Regions from separate parts of the Homo sapiens genome. Here regions 1, 2, 3, 4, 6 and 7 are each linked to region 5. The links are contacts of gene promoters, found by promoter capture Hi-C in blood cells and fetal thymus (Javierre and others, 2016). All regions are on one chromosome and are shown on one strand. The core of a region is centred on a gene start or on the middle of the fragment in contact, and the rest is flanking DNA. Distances in the headings are between cores, read along the strand shown. Region 1 has its middle 560 kb from the start of VRK2. Region 2 overlaps ASB3 (ankyrin repeat and SOCS box containing 3). Region 3 has its middle 520 kb from the start of VRK2. Region 4 overlaps GPR75-ASB3 (GPR75-ASB3 readthrough). Region 5 holds the start of PNPT1 (polyribonucleotide nucleotidyltransferase 1). Region 6 has its middle 540 kb from the start of VRK2. Region 7 overlaps ASB3 (ankyrin repeat and SOCS box containing 3).

Region 1 (2,700 bases), core at 6-2,505, 1.8 Mb after region 5:
AACCCAGTGTAAACTGTAAAAATCATAAGTCAAAATATCCAAGTTGGGAAGTATTTATAATTTAAAGTCAGGTAGTTTGTAGTTTGATGCTTCCAGTTTTGTTCTTTTTGCTCAGAATTGCCTTGGCTGTTTACGGTTTTTTTTGTGTGTGTGTGTGTACATTTGTGTGGTTCCATTATGACTTTTGGGATTGTTTTTCCTATTTCTGTAAAAAAAAAATGGCATTGGAATTTTGATGCAGATTGTATTGAATCTGTAGATCAAGTTGGGAAGTACAGACATTTTAACAATATGAATTATTCCAACCCATGAACACAGAGTATTTTTTCATTTCCTTGTATATTCTGTAATTTCTTTTCTCAAAGTTCTGTAATTTCTAAGACCTGTATTTTTCATCTCCTTGGTTAAATTTATTCCTAAGTATTTTATTTTGTGTACCTATTATAAATGGAATTGTTTTCCATGGATAAATGGGGCAGAGGGAATTGGTACACAGACCCATATCCATGGAAGGCAGAAGGTCTGATTGACAACAGAAAATTAGTGAGCTGTAGAAATGCGAAAGTAATTTCTGGTGCTCAAGTGAAGGAATAGGTTTTAGAGCAGAGCATGGATGGTTTATCAGTACATCTGTGGGACCAGGAAGGAAGGCCCAGTTGTTGGATCAGATGCTAGTAGATGGATAGATGTAGTTGTATGAATCTGGGGATCTCTGCTGAATGTTTTAGTTGTCTCAGTGAAATTGTCATTAAGACTATCAGCTGAAAGTAAGAAGACAGGGAAAATTGATATTTGAAGAGAAAGGAAGAACGTGAAATAAGCTTCTAGGAGAGTGGGAAAATAAATAGACTACAGAAATAGAGTGTGATCCTCTGCTCATCTGAAGTTTTTGGCCATGAATTTAAAGTAAGACTACTCAGTTGCATTGTTTGTGTTACTCTAGTCATTTTCAGCGGCACAAATGTCTTTGAAAATCTCAAAAAAAAATGATTTTCAACATAGAATTCTATACCTTTCCAAACTTTCAGTAAGAGTCGGGATGAGATAAAAATAATTTCAAACACACAGGTTTTCAAAGAAGTGACCTCCCATGCATGCATTCCGAGGAAATACTGAAGGATGTGCTCCATCAAGATGAGGATATAAACTAAGAAAAAGAGAGATATGAGATAACAAGAAACAGGAAATCAAACGTGGATAGCAGTGAAGGGAATCCTTGAATATATGTGAAAGGAGGGGCTCACACAACAGCTGTGCTCCAAGAACAGAGGGCAGTCAAATCTGACTAGAAGGAGTACTGCTTCAGGAAGATGAAATGGACAGAATATGTGAAATAACTAAATGTCTTTAGAGGAGATTCAGGAAATTTTTAAAAAGTTGGTTACTGATGAGTACGTAAAGATATGAAAATTATTAGTTCCCAGTAAAATAAAAAGGTTTCTAGGAGGGAAAAGTAATTATAGTTTATTGACCGGATCAGTTGTAAGCAGTGTTTACAACATAATAATGCAAATACTGAACAGCAGTCTTATAAAAATTCCATATAACAATATCACAATGTTGGGGGATAGAAGTACCATTCATGCATGGTGGAAATAGCAATTGGAGAACTAAAAATATCCAAATTCTTACATTAAAAAGGAGGTCAGCTATTAATAATTCAGGCTGAAAAATAAAAATGCTGCAATGTAAGCTTTTATTTAGAAATTTAGATCAATGCCAAAATAATTACTCAATAGAGGTGAAATTAGTTGTCTTTGGAATGGGAGCAGGGGAAAAGGCAGAGAACTTTGCTTCCCTCCAAGAAATGACATAGAACCATTTTACTCATTATGCTCACGCATAACTGTGTGCAAGAAAAAGAGAAGAAAAAGAACACACACAGAAGAAGTAGCACACTTGAAAGAAATGGAAAGTGGTTCAAAGTAGCTGCAGGGTAGAATGTGTGTAGTGATGTTTAAGGCCAATAAAAAGAGAAAAGTAGGTTGTGAGAAAAACGTCAAACTAAGAAACTTTTACTTCATTCAAGAGAATATAAGAAATCATCACAAGTAATGAGGCAAGAAAATTATATAATCAGATTTGTGCAAAGATGATTCTAAGAGCAGTGTACATTGTAGTTTGGAAGATACAAGGCTGAAACATCAAAATGAGCCACATTACTGAAATTTCTCAGAAAGACACCAGGGCCTTAGGCTGTCTGTTTCCTTTCAGGCTATGTGTATCTATTCCACTTCCATATCCCTCACCTTTGCCTATTTCTCTTTCCACTTCTCCTTAAGACTTATTTTCTTCTCTAAAGCCAATAATAGAAGTGAAGATTTTGTGTGTGTGTGCATATGTGTGTGTGTGTTACTGTGGGCATATGCATAACATGCATATTTTTCTGAAAATGAATACATAACTATGCACTCTACTTAATTTAAAAGGTGTGTATATATGAAAATTCTATTATCTTATGGAAAAAATAATTCTATTTTACAATGTGGATAATTGTTTTTTATGGGCCAGTGGTCTCTGACATAAAATATATTGTCTAAAATGTTATCTAAGCCCTAAATTGGAGTTTGAGGTAAAAAAAAATAGAAATAAATATATAACATTATTAATCTGAAAACATCCCTGATGCTATAAGTCAACCCTAATATCCTTAGTGAGACCTAAAATGAGAGCTAATGCCCAGCGTTGTGCTTGGTCTCT
Region 2 (2,700 bases), core at 77-2,576, 1.9 Mb before region 5:
CCCCGTCTCTACCAAAAATACAAAAAAATTAGCCAGGTGTGGTGGCGGGCACCTGTAGTCCCAGCTACTTGGGAGGCTAAGCCAGGAGAATTGCTTGAACCCAGGAGGCAGAGGTTGCAGTGAGCCAAGATGGCGCCACTGCACTCCAGCCTGCGCAACAGAGCAGGATTCTTGTCTCAAAAAAAAAAAAAAAAAAAAAAAGAGTGTAAGCAATCTTTAATTGGAGGCCATTTGGCTAAGATGGTCCTAGGACTCTGGGTTCCTATGTAAGCAAACTGAAGCCCAATGTAAACAGTGAAACAAAACTTAATCTTTGCTTTTTATTTTTTAATTATAAACTGACTATAGTTATATATTTATGAGGTACAAAGTGATGATTTATGAATACAATGTGGAATAATTAAATCTAGTTAACATATCCATGACCTCAAATTTTTTTTGTAGTGAAAACTTTTAAAAGTTACTCTTAGCAAGTATAAAGTACATTATTAGTCACTATATTCACCATACTGTGCAACATATCTCAAAGAAAAAAATTCCTCCCCTTTGACTATCATCTCCCCATTCCCCCATGCCTTCCCTCCAACCCTGGTAACCACTGTTCTACTCTCTGCTTCTTTTAGTTCAACGGTTTTAGATTAAATATATAAGTAAGCACATATGTTGTTTGTCTGCTTGTACTTGGCTTATCTCATTTAGCTTAATGTTCTCCAATCCATCCATGTCGTCACAAATGACAAAGTTTCTTTCATTTTTAAGGCTGAATAGTATTCCACTACGTATGTACACCAGATTTTTCTTTATCCATTCATCTGTCTAAGGACCCTTAGGTTGATTCCGTATCTTGGCTATTGTGATTAATGCTGCAATGAACATGGGAGTGCAGATATCTCTTCAACATACTGATTTCCAATCTTTTAGGTAAATACCCAGAAGTTGGATTGCTGGATCATATGGTAATTCTATTTTTAGTTTTTTGAGGAACTGCCACTGTTTTCCATAACGGTTGTACTAATTTACATTGCCATTAACAGTGTACAGAGGTTCCCCTTTCTCCACATGCCTTGCCAACACTTATCTTTCATCTGTTTGATAGTAGCCATTCTGACACATATTGGGGTGATATCTCATAGTGGTTTTAATTTGCATTTCCCTGATGATTAGTAATGTTGAACATTTTTTCATGTATCTGTTGGCCATTTGTATGTCTTCTTTTGAGAAATGTCTATACAGGTTCCTTGCCCATTTTTTAACTGGATTATTTGTATTCTTTCTATAGAGTTATTTGAGTTCCTTTTATATTCTGAATTTTAATCCCTTATCTCATGTATGGCTTGCAAATATTTCCTCCCAATCCATAGGATGTCACAACTTAATTTTAATCAGAAACCAACAACTATTCTCTAACAAGCAACTTTCTGCCAGATTGTACCCAAATAAGACAAACAAGTAGCTATGACAATCAAGTAATTTTTTTTTTTTCAAGACAGGGTCTCGCTCTGTTGCCCAGGCTGGAGTGCAGTGGCACAATCACAACTCACTGCAGCCTCAACCTCCCAGGCTCAAGCAATCCTCCCACCTCAGCCTCCCAAGTAGCTGGGACTACTGGCATGTGCCACCATGCCTGGCTAATTTTTGCATTTTTTGTAGAGATGGAGTTTCACCATGTTGCCCAGGCTGGTCTTGAACTCCTGAGCTCAAGTGATCCACCTACCTCAGCCTCCCAAAATGATGGGATTACAGGTATGAGCCACTATGCCCAGTCCAATCAAGTAATTTCTTTACTTCGCTTCCACATTCAGCCTGCAAAGGTCTGCCGCTTACTCTGTTAAAACAAGAGCTCCCTGAACTACTTCTAATTTTGGGTGCTGCCAAATTCATTAATCCTTTAACACAAAAACAAATTCTGATAAATTGATTTCGTCTAAAGTTTTTCTTTTAACAAAGTCAAAATGAAGTTACCAAGGAAGCCCTGAAGGCTTTTTGTGATAAGGCTTAAAAGATTACATGATAGTAAAAGGTTACATGCTGAAAGATTCTCAACTAAAGAGCCTTATCATACATCAAGAGCCAGAGTTTCTTACATATTCTTCTTGTTTCCAATCTCTTTTCCTCTTTCCAATACACGCTCTACTGTGCACTCAGAATTACTTACCTAAAATATGAAACTGAGGTCAGTAATCAAAATGTCTTCCTGCTGCATATAAAATAAATTCAAATCCTTTAATCTGGCATTCAACTACTTACCATCTGGTCAATCTGGTATCAGTGTATTTGTCAAATTTCACTTCCCACTGACGTACTCCCCTGCCCCTCATGCTCCAATCACACCACCCTCCTCATTCTTTAAGACCTAGCTCAAATGAGCGAACTAATGTTATGTGGCAAGCAATGACTATGCACTGAGACCACCAAAATAAATAAGATAGTCCCCGGCTATCAAGAATCATATTTGGTGGAGAAACACACAAGCAAACAAATCTATGTTATTTAATATAAAAGATGTGATATAAAATACAAGCAGAGGGGTGGGTATGGTGCTCGTGCCTGTAATCTCAGCAATTTGGGAGGCCAAAGCAAGGGGATCACTTGAAGTCAGTAGTTTGAGACCAGCCTGGGCAATATAGTGAGACCATGTCTCTACAAAAATGTAAAAATTAGCTGGGCATAGTGGCACATGTCTGCAGTCCTAGCCACTCT
Region 3 (2,700 bases), core at 116-2,615, 1.8 Mb after region 5:
ATTTAGGGGGCTCAGAAGGAAACATGAAGATGAGGCAAAGTGTGGAGTTTCTTATAGACTGATTAAATGGTTGTGATCAGATGCTTGTCTATCAAGATGAATAGTGAAGTTCAGGCTGATGAGGCCTCAGTTAGAAATGTAGAACTTATTTGAGACTGGAGCAAAGGTCACTCTTCTTATGCCTTAGCAAAGAACTTGGGTATGATATGTTTATGCCTTAGGAATCTGGAAATTTGAACTTGTGTAGGTTATCTGGTGGAAGAAATTTCTAAGCACCAAAGCATTCACGACATGGCCTGGCTGCTTCTAACAACTTACACTCAGATGTGGGGACAAAGAAATTACTTAAATTTGGAAGTTATATTTAAAGAGAAAAGCAGAGGGTAAAAGTTTGAAAAATTTGTAGCCTGGCTATGTGGTAGGAAAGAAAATCCCATTTTCTGGAGAAGGATTCAAGCAGGCTGTGGAGAAACCACTTGCTAGTGAGATTTGCATAATTAAAAAAGAACCAAGTGCAAAGAAAATAGGAAAAAGGGCTTGAAAGCATTTCAGAGGTCTCTGAGCCAGCTTCTTGCATCACAGGCCCTGAGGCCTTTTAGAAGGACTGAATGGTTTCCTGGCCCAGGCCCAGGGAAACACTGCCCTGTACCATTCCAGGAGGCTGCCTCTCAAATTGTGTCCACGTGGGCTCCAGCCTCAGCTCAAAGGGCCCAAGGAACAGCTTGGGCCACCATTCTGGAGGATGCAAGCCATAAATCTTGGAAGCTTTTATGGAGTGTAAAGCCTGTAGGCACATAGAGTGTAAAAGTGAAGAAGGCTCAGCACCCTTTGCCTAGATTTCAGAGGATGTATGAGAAATCCTGGGTGCCAAGGCAGAAGACTGCTGCAGGGATGGGACCCATACAGACAACCTCTATTAGGGCAGTATAAAGAAGAAGTGTAGGGTTGGAGGCCCTACAAAGAATCCCCACTAGGGCACTACCTAGTGGAACTGTAGGAGGAGGGCCAACATCCTCCAGACCCCAGAATCGTAGATTCAACTGGAATCTTTCATACCGCACCTGGAAAAGCTGCAGGCATTCAACTCCAAACCATGCGAGAAGACACAGGGGCTGAACCCTGCAAAGCCACAGGGATGGAGTTCCCCAAAGCCTTGGAAGCCCACCTTTGCACGAGTGTGTCCTGTAGGTTAAAGGAGATTATTTTGGAACTTCAAGACTTAATTACTGCCCCGCAGAATTTCAAACTTGTGTGGAGCCTGTAGCCCTTCTTTTGGCTGATTTCTCCCTTTTGGAATGGGAATGTTCACCCAATATCTGTACCCACGTTGTATCTTGGAAGTAAATAACTTATTTTGATTTCACAGGCTCATAGGTGGAAGGAATTCATCTCCAGATGAGACTTTGGGCTTGGGACTTGGGACTTTTCAGTTAATGCTGGAATGAGTTAAGACTTTGGGAGACTATTGGGAAAGCACTGAGACAGCCACATGGGAGGGGGTTCCTGGAGAAATTTCAACCAGCCTGCCCACTGGGGTAGAGCCTCGGGAAGTTTGCACAGTTTTCAGCAGGGAGGAATCTGGCCCCTCCGCTTCCTGCGTGGAACCTGGGATTCAAATGGCAGGACGGGAAGTGCTGTAGCAGGGACTGTGGCCTTGTAAGAGTCCCTGTTTCACCCTTTTCTTCCTTTCTATCCAATAAACTGTGTCTTACTCACCATTCAAACCATGTGAGCCTAAATTTTCATGGTCACAGGACTGACAAGGACCCTGTCTTTAGCTGAACTAAGGAAAAGTCCTGCAACAGCATGAATGTATTTTGCATTGTGAGAAGAATTTGACATTTGGTGAGGGCCAGGGGCAGAATAAAATAGTTTGTATATTTGTTCTCCTACTCCAACAAAACATAAATATATTTTATACTCTGTATGATATTCCAATACAGCATTGTTTATTTCTCAAATTGTTCAAGCTTTGGACATTGGCAGCTGTTTCATTTGGCTGCTGCATAATTATCACACCTATCTTTTTTTTCTTGTCACTTGTTACTTTCTGACTTATTTGTTTATTTAAATATATTTAAGGGATACAAGTGTAGATTTCTTATATGCATATATTGCATAGTGGTGAAGTCTGGGCTTCTAGTGTACCCATTATCCAAATAGTGTATATTGCACCCAGTAGGTACTTTTCCAACCCTCGCCCCCTACACTATCCCACCTTTTGTAGTCTCCAATGTACATCATTCCACTCTGTATGTCAATGTGTACCTCTTGTTTTGGCCCCCACATGTAGGTGACAGCATGCAGTATTTAGCTTTCTGTTTCTGAGCTATGTTACTTAGGATAATGGCCTCCAGTTCCATCCAAGTTGTTGAAAAGACATGATTTCATTATTTTTATGGCTAAGTAGTATTCCATAGTGTATTGATATCACATTTTTTAAATCCAGTCCTCCATTGATGGACACTTAGGTTGATCCTATATCTTCACTATTGTGAAGAGTACTGTAGTAAACATACGAGCATAAGTGCCTTTTTGATATAATGATTTATTTTCTTTTTAATAGACACCTAGAAGTGGGATTGCTGGATTATCTGGTATTTATTTTTAAGTTTGTTGAAAAATCACCATACTGTTTTCCATAGAGGTTGTACTGATTTACGTTCTCACCAACAGTGTATAATTCCATTTTCTCTGCAT
Region 4 (2,700 bases), core at 79-2,578, 1.9 Mb before region 5:
AGAGGGAGGGGTGACAAACTACCTATGAAGTATTAGGATACTATGTTCAATACTTGGGTGACAGGGATATTAGAAGCTCAGACTTCATCATCATGCAATATATCCATGTAACAAACCTGCACATGTACCCCCCGAATCTAAAATTTTTGTTAATGTTTGTAGCATATTTTCCCTCCCTTTAAAATAATCATCTGTTGAAATGTTAAATTAGTTTAAAGAATCTTTTTTCCAGCTAAGACTAAAGTTATTCAGTGTGATACAATTTCACGGAGAACATAATGTATGTTTTTTCTTCTATTTGCAGCCCACAACTGGAGTTTTATATAAAGAAGATAATTATGTCATCATGACAACTGCACATAAAGAAAAATATAAATGCATACTTCCCCTTGTGACAAGTGGGGATGAGGTAAGTTTTTATAAATATATTGATAATCCTGTCACCAAAAATATTTATGTAAAACATTGTAACTACATACTTTGAAGTAAAATTGAATAACAGATTTCTCAATAACGCTCTTTTAGCATAAAAATAGTAATCACTTTTAATATCCCTGAATTCTTTGATTTTGCAGTTTATCTTGGGAAAAATTAGCAATCAATTTTTTTTTATTTTATTTATTTATTTATTTTGAGACGAAGTCTCACTCTATCGCCAGGCTGGAGGGCAGTGGCACGATCTTGGCTCACTGCAACCTCCGACTCCCGGGTTCAAGAAATTCTCCTGTCTCAGCCTCCCAAGTAGCTGGGATTACAGGCACACACCACCACACCCAGCTAATTTTTGTATTTTTAGTAGAGACGGGGTTTTACCATGTTGGCCAGGATGGTCTCGATTTCTTGACCTCATGATCTGCCCACCTCGGCCTCCCAAAGTGCTGGGATTACAGGCATGAGACACCATGCCCGGCCGCAACCAATTATTAACGTTTTGAATGAAAATCTAACTCCACACTTGCTTTCTTTATAGAAATTAGGGTTTTAAAACAAGATAACAATTTTTAAATGTATATGTGACTTTTTAAATAAATGATTGTTTATAAATAAGTCTGTAGGTACCCCATGCTTTCTCATTATCTTAGCCCATGCCCTTTTCTTCCTCCTAAAATGCCCTAATTGCCTCTTATCCATCCTTCAAGGCAATGACTTCTTTCAAGATGAAACAGGAGAGGCAGCATGGTAAAATGGGAAGGACACCGGCCTAGGAGCCAGGAGGCTGAGGTATAGGCTATAGCTAGCTGTGGAACCTTGAACAAATTTGAAACTGACTTCCTCCACTCAATAAATTTATTAAGCCAATTCAGTAATATTTTCATGATCTGGAAAATAGAAATATTAAACTCAGTGCTTTATTGGGTTTTGTTCAGATTTGAAATCAAAGACCACTGTTTTAAGTCTCCTTGAGACACACACACACACGCACACGGCATTCAAATCTGAAATGTAAAAATACATAAAAAACTGAAAAGTGCCTTAAAACTTTCCAATATATCCTATAAGATTCAACTATTCTAAGGGCTTTCATAGCTAAGAATTTGTTTGGGTACAAGCATTTAAAAATTCTGAAATAGGTTTATAAGAATTGTTCAGGAAACTGATACTTAAAAACCTTTTTTCCCTCCATTCTTGCCTTGTGAAAAGCAAAAATACATTTTAAAAAAACCTTTTTTTAAGAAAGCATGAACTCTGTGAAGATTATTTTACGGCTCCATATTTTATACTTCAGTTATTTGAAAGCAATGGCGTACCGTAGGGTCTTGTTAAACATTTTGACTTTTTTTTCTCTTTTATTTCTAAGCATTTGTGATTTGAGTAATGAGTTAATATCCAAACAGCAAAGTTGGGTGAAATTCTAGAAAAACTGTAAGTATTAAACTCCAATTCTTTCTTAGGAAGAAGAAAAGGATTATAAAGGCCCTAATCCAAGAGAGCTTTTGGAGCCACTATTTAAACAAAGCAGTTGTTCCTACAGAGTATGTATTTTATGTTTACTTGATGACTAGAAAATAGATTACCAACAGCCAACAGACCTTTGAAAATACCGTTTCTTCTTTATTATGTTGTGTCAGGTTTTTTTTTTTAACTATTATTTTAGGTTTAGGGTTACCTGTGCAGGATTGTTATATAGGTAAACTGCATGTCACCGGGGTTTGGTGTACAGATTATTTAGTCACCTAGATAATGAATATAGTACCTGATGGGTTGGTTTTTTTTTTTTTTTTTCTTTTAATCCTCTCCCTCCTCCCATTCTTTACCTTCAAGAAGGCCCTAAGTCTGTTATTCCCCTCTTTGTGTCCATGTGTTCTCATTTTTTAGCTCCCATTTATATAAATGAGAACATACAGTATTTGGTTCTCTGTTCCTATTGTATCAGATGTTAAGTTAGGTATAAATATAAATTATTTCTTTTTTTTTCTTTCTTTGCTTTTTTCTTTTTGAGAAAAGGTCTCATTCTGTCACCCAGGCTAGAGTATAGTGGCATGATCACGATTCACTGCAGCCCCAACGTCCCATGCTCAAGCTGTTCTCCCACCTCAGACTCCCCAGTAGCTGAGCACCACCATGCCCTGCTAATTTTTGTATTTTTTATAAAAATGAGGTTTTTCACAGTGTTGCCCAGACTAGTCTCAGACTCCTGAACTCAAGCCATCCACCCGCCTCAGCCTTTTAAAGTGCTAGAATTACAGGCGTGAGCGACTG
Region 5 (2,700 bases), core at 111-2,610:
TCCATTTATTCTAAGAACGATTAAAGCAAACTTTTTTTTTAAAAAGCGGTCCCCTAAAAAAAAGTATGGGCTTTGTAAGCAAAAAACAGAAATTCAAAAACCACCTAGTCCCATAATACTAACTTTTTTATAGACTCTTAGAAAGTTATCTAACCTTTTTTGAGCCTCTGTAGTCTTAACTATAAAATGAGGGTAATAGTACCTTTACGACAGGTTTAAAAAGATTGCGAGGATCATATAACTGGCGTTCAAAAAACTGACTTTTCCTTTTCCTCCTAACCCAGGGTCATAGTGGTCACACTTTAGGCAATCAATTAGATTGGATGACATGATATCTTGTACTCCTAACTTCAAGTCATCCTTCCGTCTTAGCCTCCCAAAGTGCTGGGATTACAGGTGTGAGCGCCTGACCTTTTGCCATCTCTTTGCATCGATCTTTGCTTTTGTTTCTCTCTGTGTGTCTCCTTGCCTCTCTCCCTGTCACTGTCTCTCTCTCTCCCCTGCCTCCCTCTTGGTCTCTTTTTTTTGCTGTCTCTTTCTGATGACCTTGTTCCCATCTCTGTGCGTGTGTGGCTCTCTCCCTGTCCATCTCTTACCATCTCTGCCTTCCTCTCCCAGGTCTTAAACGAATATTTCCACAATGTCTGTGAACTGGACCTGGTGTTCAACTTCTACAAGGTAGGCTCCTGGTGAAGAGGAGGCTGAAGGAGCCCGAGGAGTGGGACGTGGGGGACCCGTGGTGCACTAGCCACCCGGAGCCTCTGCTGAGGTCTGTGTCCCAGCTCGAGGGGCATCAGAGCCCCAGCTTCCAGGGTCCGGGCCAGCATCCCGGGGGGCCTCGTCTCACCCACGTCAACTCGTTATTCCTAGGTGGAATGTTTCCCACTTAAGAGCCCAGTGGTCCCGGAAAGTAAAGAGATCGGAAGTCAGGTGGACGGACAGAGTCGGATGGAGCAAAGAAGCCCGGCACACACCAACAGAGAGAACGACATAGCGCGGGAAGGAGGGTCCGAGGAGACACATTCCAAACCCGGAAAGGGAAATTTGGAATTTAGGTTTAGGGTAAGGAGAGATTAAATAGAGCTGGGATACCGGGTTTCTACCCTGGGAGATGAATACGCTCAAGCTGGCTGGACAAGACACCTTATGACAATACAGTGAACGCACGTCACTCCTTACCTGTTGCCTAAGTCCACGGCCACAGCTCGAGACCCTGCGCTACTCCATAGTGCTCGCACTTGCAACTGGGTGAGTGCCCGATCCCGCCGTGGCAGAAGGAAAGGACCATCGCTCAGGGGCCGGAGCCGGAGGCACGAGCAGCAGTACCTGCAGGCCGCCATGACACCCGGCACGCGGTCAACGCAGGCTGTGCCCTGATTGGCTCACTCCGCAGACCGTGGGGCGGAGCCTGATGGAGTTTCGTTTCCGCGGTGCCCGAGGGACGCCGGGGTAACGGAAACCTTGGCCACCTTCTACGAAGACTAGAGAGGGTCAAACCTATCAGAACGCGATTATGTTGCAAACGATCTTTGTCTTTATGTGCCAACGAAAGGCAATTAGATAAATAAGGTTTTTGTGTGTGTACTATCGTAATTTAAAGGAGAAGTCCTAGAATAATGTAAATGTTTAATATGCAGAGTAAATTTATATTTACTTTTAATACTAGAAGTCATAGAACAACACATTATTATTATTTGGATCTGTGAACTAAGAATTAGAATTTGGGTGGTGGGCCTTGGAAAGAGATCTCCTTCTCCCCTTCTCCGCCCTGGTTTTTATTTTAAAAATTTCACATAGCAGATATGTTACTACAGCGATTTGTGTTAACCAATTTACAGTAAATTCATTTTTCATCGACTTGTAATTTTAGAAATCTTTATTGTCACTTCTGATTCATTTTCATTTCCATTGCTAATAATTAGCAATTTATATTTCTGTCCCTTTTGGTCGAACTCTTAAATGCAAAATGCCAGCTACTGTTTGAAGTAAATATTTTGTAAAATGAAAAAAAAAAGTTTTTGGGATTTGAAAAATTTTTAGAGAATGGATAAATTTCTTCCACCCCATTAATCCATTCTGTTAGAAATTCTTTATGTTTTTCCTTGAATGAACCAATGGGCATTTTCATATTATGATGTAAATTTTTTGTGTAAGGTGATAACCGCCTTACCCCAAAGAAAACCAAACAACAAAAACCCAACACTCATTCAAACACAGTTTTAAGAATTAAAAACGTTGGCTGGACGCTGTGGCTCACGCCTGTAATCCCAGCACTTTGGGAGGCCGAGGCGGGCGGATCACCTGAGTTCGAGACCAGCCTGACCAACACAGAGAAACCCCGTCTCTACTAAAAATACAAAACTAGCCGGGCATGGTGGCTTATGCCTGTAATCCCAGCTACTCGGGAGGCTGAGGCAGGGGAATCGCTTGAACCCGGGAGGCGGAGGTTGCAGTGAGCCGAGATCGCGTCATTGCAACAAGAGTGAAACTCGGTCTCAAAAAAAAAAAAAAAAAAAAAAAAAAAAAAAGTCCGGGCGCAGTGGCTCATGCCTGTAATCCCAGCACGCTGGGAGGCAGAGGCGGGTGGATCACGAGGTCAAGAGACCCAGGGCATCCTGGCCAACATGCTGAAACCGCGTCTCTACTAAAAATACAAAAATTAGCTCGGTGTGGTGGCGCGTGCCTGTAATCCCAGCTACT
Region 6 (2,700 bases), core at 152-2,651, 1.8 Mb after region 5:
ATAATTCGATAAAAGTGAAATTATACCTTATGTGACATTTTTGGGTTGGCTTTTTACAGTCAGCATAATTCTCTTAAGATCCATCCAGATTGTTGTGCATGACAATAATGCATTCCTTTTTCTTGCTGAGCAGTATTCCATGCTAGACATATGTCATAGTTTATTTAAACATTCAACCATTGAAGAACATCAGAGTTGTGTCTTTTTTGGAGATATTGTGAATAAAGTTGCTATAAATATTCATGCACATGTTTTCGTATTAACATATTTTCATTTATGTGAGATAAATTTCTAAAGGTACAAATAATGGGGCATAAAGTAGTTGTACACTTACTTTTTTAAATAAACTATCAAAGTATTTTCCAGAATGCCTGTATAATTTTACATTCCCATTATCAATGTACGTGTGATCTAGTTTGTCCATATCTTTGCCAGCATTTGATATTTTACTTTTTTTAGGCCATTCCGAGAAATATATAGTAATATCTCATTGTGATTTTAATTTGCGTTTTCCTAATGGCTAACGATGTTAAACATGTTTTTATAAGCTTATTTGTCATCTATATATTCTTTTTGAGAAGTTACTTCTTTGTGTTTTTTGTTCATTCCATAATTGGATTTTTGCTTACTATTAAGTTTTATGAATCCTTTATATAGTCTACATCTTAGTAATTTGTTGCATATAGGGTTTGTAAATATTTTCTTTCACCCTGTAGCTTGTCTATTTATCTTCTTAATGAGGTTCTTCATGGAGCAAAAGTTGTTTTTTTAAAATTTATTATTATTATTTTTTGAGACAGGGTCTCACTGTGTTGCCCAGGCTGGAGTGCAGTGGTGAGATCTCTGCTCTCTGCAACCTCTGCTTCCCGGGTTCAAGCAATTCTACCGCCTCAGCCTCCCGAGTAGCTGGGATTCCAGACAAATGCTACCACGCCCGGCTAGTTTTTGTATTTTTAGTAGAGGCGAGGTTTCACCATGTTACCAGGCTGGTCTCAAACTCCTGACCTCAAGTGATCTGCCTGCCTTGGCTTCCCAAAGTGCTGGGATTATAGGCATGAGCCACTGCGCCCGGCCATTTTTTTTTTTTAATAGAGTTCAGTTAATCATGTTTTTCTCTTATGAAACATGCTTTTGTTTTCAAGTTTAAGAACTGTTTGCTAAGTCTACATCCCCCAGATATTATCCTATTTTTGTCTAAGTGTTTTATAGTTTTATGTTTTATATTTAAGTAGATGATCCAATTTGAGTTAAAGTTTATTGTAATGGGTGTTAAATTGCTCTAGCACTATTTGTTGAGAATACTATCTTTCCTCTATTCAATTGCTTTTGCACATTTTAAAGAAATAAGTTGGGCAGAATTTTGTAATCAATTTCTGAGTTCTCTATTCTGTTCCTTTGTTCTATGCCTACCCCTCCCTACAAGCCATGAAAAATCCATTTGGGAGGAATTGGAATTGCTGCTATACTAACTCTTCTAATCCATGAACACGGTAACACGGTATGTCTCTTAGTTTATTTAGGTCATCTTTGATTTATTTTACAGCATTTTGTAGTTATCAGCATGTAAGTATGGCATAATTTTTGTTAAAAATATACCTATTTAATATTACAAACAATTATAATTTTAATGTTCACGTATTTATTGCTAGTATATAGAAATAAAATTATTTTTTGTTGTTGACTTAGTACTCAGCAAACTTATGGAAGTCATTTATTAGTTTTAGGCATTTTTATTGTCAATTTCTTGGGATTTTCTATGTAGGCGTAATGTAATCTACTAATAGGGATAGTTTTATGTCTTTATTTCTGATCTTTATGTCTTTTATTCAATTTTCTTGCCTACTACACTGGCTAGACCATTCAATACTGTATTGAATAAGAGTGGTGAGAGCAGACATCTCTGTAGCACAAGAGGGTTTGTGAAGACCATCACCCTGCCCTTGCTGCGAGATGAGACCTGCGGGCCGTGGGTTACTGACACCTGCTATTTAAACTGATCTTGCTCTGTCTCTTCTCTATGTGGATAAAATACTGTTCCATCTAGTGCCTATAGGAGTTACGTCTTTCTTTTTATCTTGGTTTGGACTGCTGTAACAAAATATTGTATGGCTTAAAAACGGATATTTATTTCTCATCGTTCTGGAAGCTCGAAGTCCAAGATCAGGGTGCCAGCATGGTCAGGTTCTTGGTTCACAGAAGGTTGCCTTCTCACTGTATCTTCATATGCTGGGGTGAGGAGTGTATTGGAGAAGAGGAAGCTTTGGTCCCTTCATCTACTTACAGGAGTACTAGTCTCATCTTGGAGGCCCCACCCTCATAGGTAAAGGCCCCACTTCCAAATACCATTACCTTTGGGATTAGGGCTTCAACATATGAATTTGGGGAGAACAAAACCATTCGGTTCAGAGCAGTTGAAGACTCCAATACCTGCAAACTGTTCCAATTCCTGAATTGACATTGTGAGTCTACTGCTTCTTGTGGTAGGAAACAGATGTCACTTGCTCAACATTTTTATGTAATGTGCAGGGTTTTTAGTTGTACCTAGTAGAAGAAGTAGAAGCAAACGTATCTCCTTCAACTTAGAAGCAAAAGTCCATATTGTTTCTTTTTTTTAATCAATGCATTCTTATTTAGAATAAACATTTTTGAGAATGGATGTGTTCATTTACATTTAAGTAGAGACAATATTTTCCTCATGGC
Region 7 (2,700 bases), core at 57-2,556, 1.9 Mb before region 5:
ATAAATTACATTACATCTCTACCATGAAATACTACACAAAAGTGTTTTCACTCAAGAGAGCAGAAGAGTGACTTGGTCTGTTGCATTTTAAAATGATCCCTCTAATATATTGAGGGTGGTCTGTCATAGGATGCAGAAGGAGCAATGGCAGATAGAGAAGATCTGTTAAGATGCTATTATAGCAACGCAGACAAGGTATTAATGGTAGTGAGAAGTGATCTAACTGTGTGTGTGTGTGTGTGTGTGTATACATACACACAAATATAGACATACACATACACAAATTTGCTGACTGACTAGATGAGAAATATGAGAAAAAGAAAGGAATTAATGATGGCCCAGAGTTTCTGGCCTGAGCTGGAACAATGGAATATTTCTATCTAACAGATGAAAAAACTAAACCACTTAGAGGTTAAAAAACCTGTCCAAAGTCACACCAATAAAATGGTAGAGTCACTAGAATTCAGGTCCATCTGACCGTAACTCTTAATCGCTGTGCTACAATGATTTATTTGTCTAAGGAACTTCTGCATCTGTTACTGTGCCCAGTATTAGTGCGTATTTTCTTATTTAACATGAACTAATAAAAAATACTATGAGCTAGATCATTTATTAGCCAAATAAAAGTATTTTTTAGCTATATGCTTAATAATTATAAGATTTTTAAGGGACTTTTAGTCAGCAAATGACTTATTATTGAATGGCATTAATTGTCAGTGAAGATCATTACTGCCCTCCAGGATGACAAGCTTCATAAAATCTCAACACCCATTACACCCAACCTCCAATACAGGAGAGAAGACAAGCAAATTTGTTATCTGTGCTAATATGTTAAACAGAAAACTAAAATGAGATACATAAGAAATACAAAAATATGTATGCATATTAAACTTCTATGTAATCTACACCACACTTGAATGCTCTTCTCCAACTTGAGTCAGAAGACCATGTATGGTACTCAGAATGGATTCCAAATCTAAATTGAAGAGACAGTGAAGCAAAACTCTTCTAATCATTTTAGATATTTCCATTTTATTTGTGTAGGCCTACATACCTTCTTATTTGGGTGCACTAATTATCTTTTAGGAATCTCTGACAGTGTATTAATATTAGATAAACCTCAGGGAGGTAGGAAAATTATATAATAAAAGACAGCAGGTGTGATGCATCACACCTGTAATCCCAGCACTTTGGGAAGCCAAGGCAGGAGGATCACTTGAGCCAAGGGTTTGAGACCAGCCTCGGCAACAAAGTGAGACAGTTAGCCAGGCATTGGTGGTGTGCACCTGTAGTCCCAGCTACTTGGGAGACTGAGGCAGGAGAACCGCTTGAATCTGGGAGGTGGAGGTGGTGGTGAGCTGAGGTCGCACCACTGCACTCCCACCTGGGCAACAGAGCAAGACTCTGTCTCAGAAAAAAAGGAAATACAGTCGGGCTTCTGTATCCACGGGTTTTGCACCTGCAGATTCAACCAACTGGGATGGAAGATAATAGCATTTGTAGGATGTGGAACCCACAGATACAGACGGCTGACCTTTTGTATGTGTGTATAGGACGTTTTCCTATCTTCAGGGCAGACTGCCGAACTTGAGGAGCATCCATGAATTTTGGTGTCCGTGGACATTTTGGGACCAATTCCCTGTGGATATGGCAGGACAACTGTAGAGATGAATTTAACAGCCAGTTCAAATGCCTTTAGTCAAAAGCATGCCCAAGTTTACTCAGCAGATGAAAAAAATCTGTAACATAAACTACACTATTCCGATATGAAGAAGAGATGTAACAGTATATTGGAAATGAGCTTTTTGCCTAGAAAAGGATATTCAAACTCATGTCTTTGTTACTAAAAATAGTTTGGGAACTCAAGCTTTATAGTTAACTTCAAACAGATTCTGAAAACATATCTTAAGCGTTTGAAATTAGAGGAATAACATCTATTTTTCCACTATCTTCAAACACTCAACTATAATAGACACTAGACACTTGAACATGTGATTTTAAAAACAATCATGACAAATTTCCTGCATTATGATTTAGGAAGTTTAGCCTTACCATCTCTTACCTGTTAAGACAAAAAAAAGAAAAAAACAAAACAACAACAACAAAAAAAACACCTACCACTACCAAAAACAATGTAAAGATTATTTCCTTTCCCGTCCAGCAGGTAACAAATTAGTAGTTCTGATGGGCTATGGACCCAGAAGTTTATATTTTAAGGACCTATACCTGGTGATGACAAGTATGCAGGAAAGAGGGTCTGAATTTCCACGATCAATGAAATGAAATTGGTTCTGAGTGTTACAATGCAGAGTATTATAGTCAACCTCATTTTAACTGAATGCTATAAATTCATTCAATTAAATGTTAGAAGCTTGGTATGAGAGGAAAAAAAAGGGCTTTAGAGTCAGAGAAATGGGTTCAAATCAAATACCCTAGTTTATTATGTAACCTTTTACAAGTCAACTTCTCTGAGCCTTGGTCTTTTCACCAATAAAATGAGGATAATACTGCCTCTAACACCATTTTTATAAATATTAGATAAAGAAGATAAATTGAGCATGTGGCACAATGACTATCACAAAGCAATGCTCAGTCACCATTTGTTTTCTTCCTACCCCCTCTATACTAAATGTCAGAATCTCGCCTTTAGTCAATGACCTTCACTCAGTAGTGTGCTGGTTAACATTTAATAACTAGCTG

Evidence for each region. Contacts are between HindIII fragments. The CHiCAGO score rates a contact against its expected background, and 5 or more counts as called.
Region 1: a fragment that was not itself captured here is called in contact with the fragment with the promoter of PNPT1 in region 5 in 2 of 17 cell types (M2 macrophages and M0 macrophages); the score reaches 8.4 in M2 macrophages.
Region 2: a contact is called between a fragment that was not itself captured here and the fragment with the promoter of PNPT1 in region 5, in 1 of 17 cell types (non-activated CD4 T cells). The highest score is 7.4, in non-activated CD4 T cells.
Region 3: a contact is called between a fragment that was not itself captured here and the fragment with the promoter of PNPT1 in region 5, in 2 of 17 cell types (M1 macrophages and M2 macrophages). The highest score is 6.9, in M1 macrophages.
Region 4: a fragment that was not itself captured here is called in contact with the fragment with the promoter of PNPT1 in region 5 in 1 of 17 cell types (naive CD8 T cells); the score reaches 5.4 in naive CD8 T cells.
Region 6: a contact is called between a fragment that was not itself captured here and the fragment with the promoter of PNPT1 in region 5, in 4 of 17 cell types (M2 macrophages, M0 macrophages, total B cells and 1 more). The highest score is 11.4, in M2 macrophages.
Region 7: a fragment that was not itself captured here is called in contact with the fragment with the promoter of PNPT1 in region 5 in 10 of 17 cell types (activated CD4 T cells, naive CD4 T cells, total CD8 T cells and 7 more); the score reaches 17.8 in activated CD4 T cells.

Annotation. Positions count from the first base shown.
Region 1 is chr2:57,484,094-57,486,793 of GRCh38, forward strand. No RefSeq gene overlaps it. Among named protein-coding and RNA genes, the nearest start is that of VRK2, 560 kb to the right of the region's middle. The HindIII fragment of the contact is 872 bases long and covers 820-1,691 here.
Region 2 is chr2:53,777,972-53,780,671 of GRCh38, forward strand. All of the region lies in intron 1 of ASB3 (ankyrin repeat and SOCS box containing 3), which reads right to left. The region is part of intron 1 of GPR75-ASB3 (GPR75-ASB3 readthrough); the gene reads right to left. Among named protein-coding and RNA genes, the nearest start is that of ASB3, 7.6 kb to the right of the region's middle. The HindIII fragment of the contact is 3,119 bases long and covers 1-2,700 here.
Region 3 is chr2:57,522,869-57,525,568 of GRCh38, forward strand. No RefSeq gene overlaps it. Among named protein-coding and RNA genes, the nearest start is that of VRK2, 520 kb to the right of the region's middle. The HindIII fragment of the contact is 1,205 bases long and covers 764-1,968 here.
Region 4 is chr2:53,794,041-53,796,740 of GRCh38, forward strand. All of the region lies in intron 1 of GPR75-ASB3 (GPR75-ASB3 readthrough), which reads right to left. It overlaps ERLEC1 (endoplasmic reticulum lectin 1), which reads left to right. Exons shown (of 14, transcript NM_015701.5): 2 at 305-409; 3 at 1,893-1,973. Among named protein-coding and RNA genes, the nearest start is that of ERLEC1, 8.3 kb to the left of the region's middle. The HindIII fragment of the contact is 4,078 bases long and covers 1-2,700 here.
Region 5 is chr2:55,692,484-55,695,183 of GRCh38, forward strand. It overlaps PNPT1 (polyribonucleotide nucleotidyltransferase 1), which reads right to left and starts at 1,361. Exons shown (of 28, transcript NM_033109.5): 1 at 1,180-1,361. The coding sequence starts at 1,340. RefSeq lists a silencer at 551-610 and enhancers at 1,181-1,300, 1,311-1,370, 1,401-1,550. The HindIII fragment of the contact is 6,564 bases long and covers 1-2,700 here.
Region 6 is chr2:57,504,940-57,507,639 of GRCh38, forward strand. No RefSeq gene overlaps it. Among named protein-coding and RNA genes, the nearest start is that of VRK2, 540 kb to the right of the region's middle. The HindIII fragment of the contact is 1,710 bases long and covers 547-2,256 here.
Region 7 is chr2:53,761,948-53,764,647 of GRCh38, forward strand. The region is part of intron 2 of ASB3 (ankyrin repeat and SOCS box containing 3); the gene reads right to left. The region is part of intron 2 of GPR75-ASB3 (GPR75-ASB3 readthrough); the gene reads right to left. Among named protein-coding and RNA genes, the nearest start is that of CHAC2, 4.5 kb to the right of the region's middle. The HindIII fragment of the contact is 1,118 bases long and covers 748-1,865 here.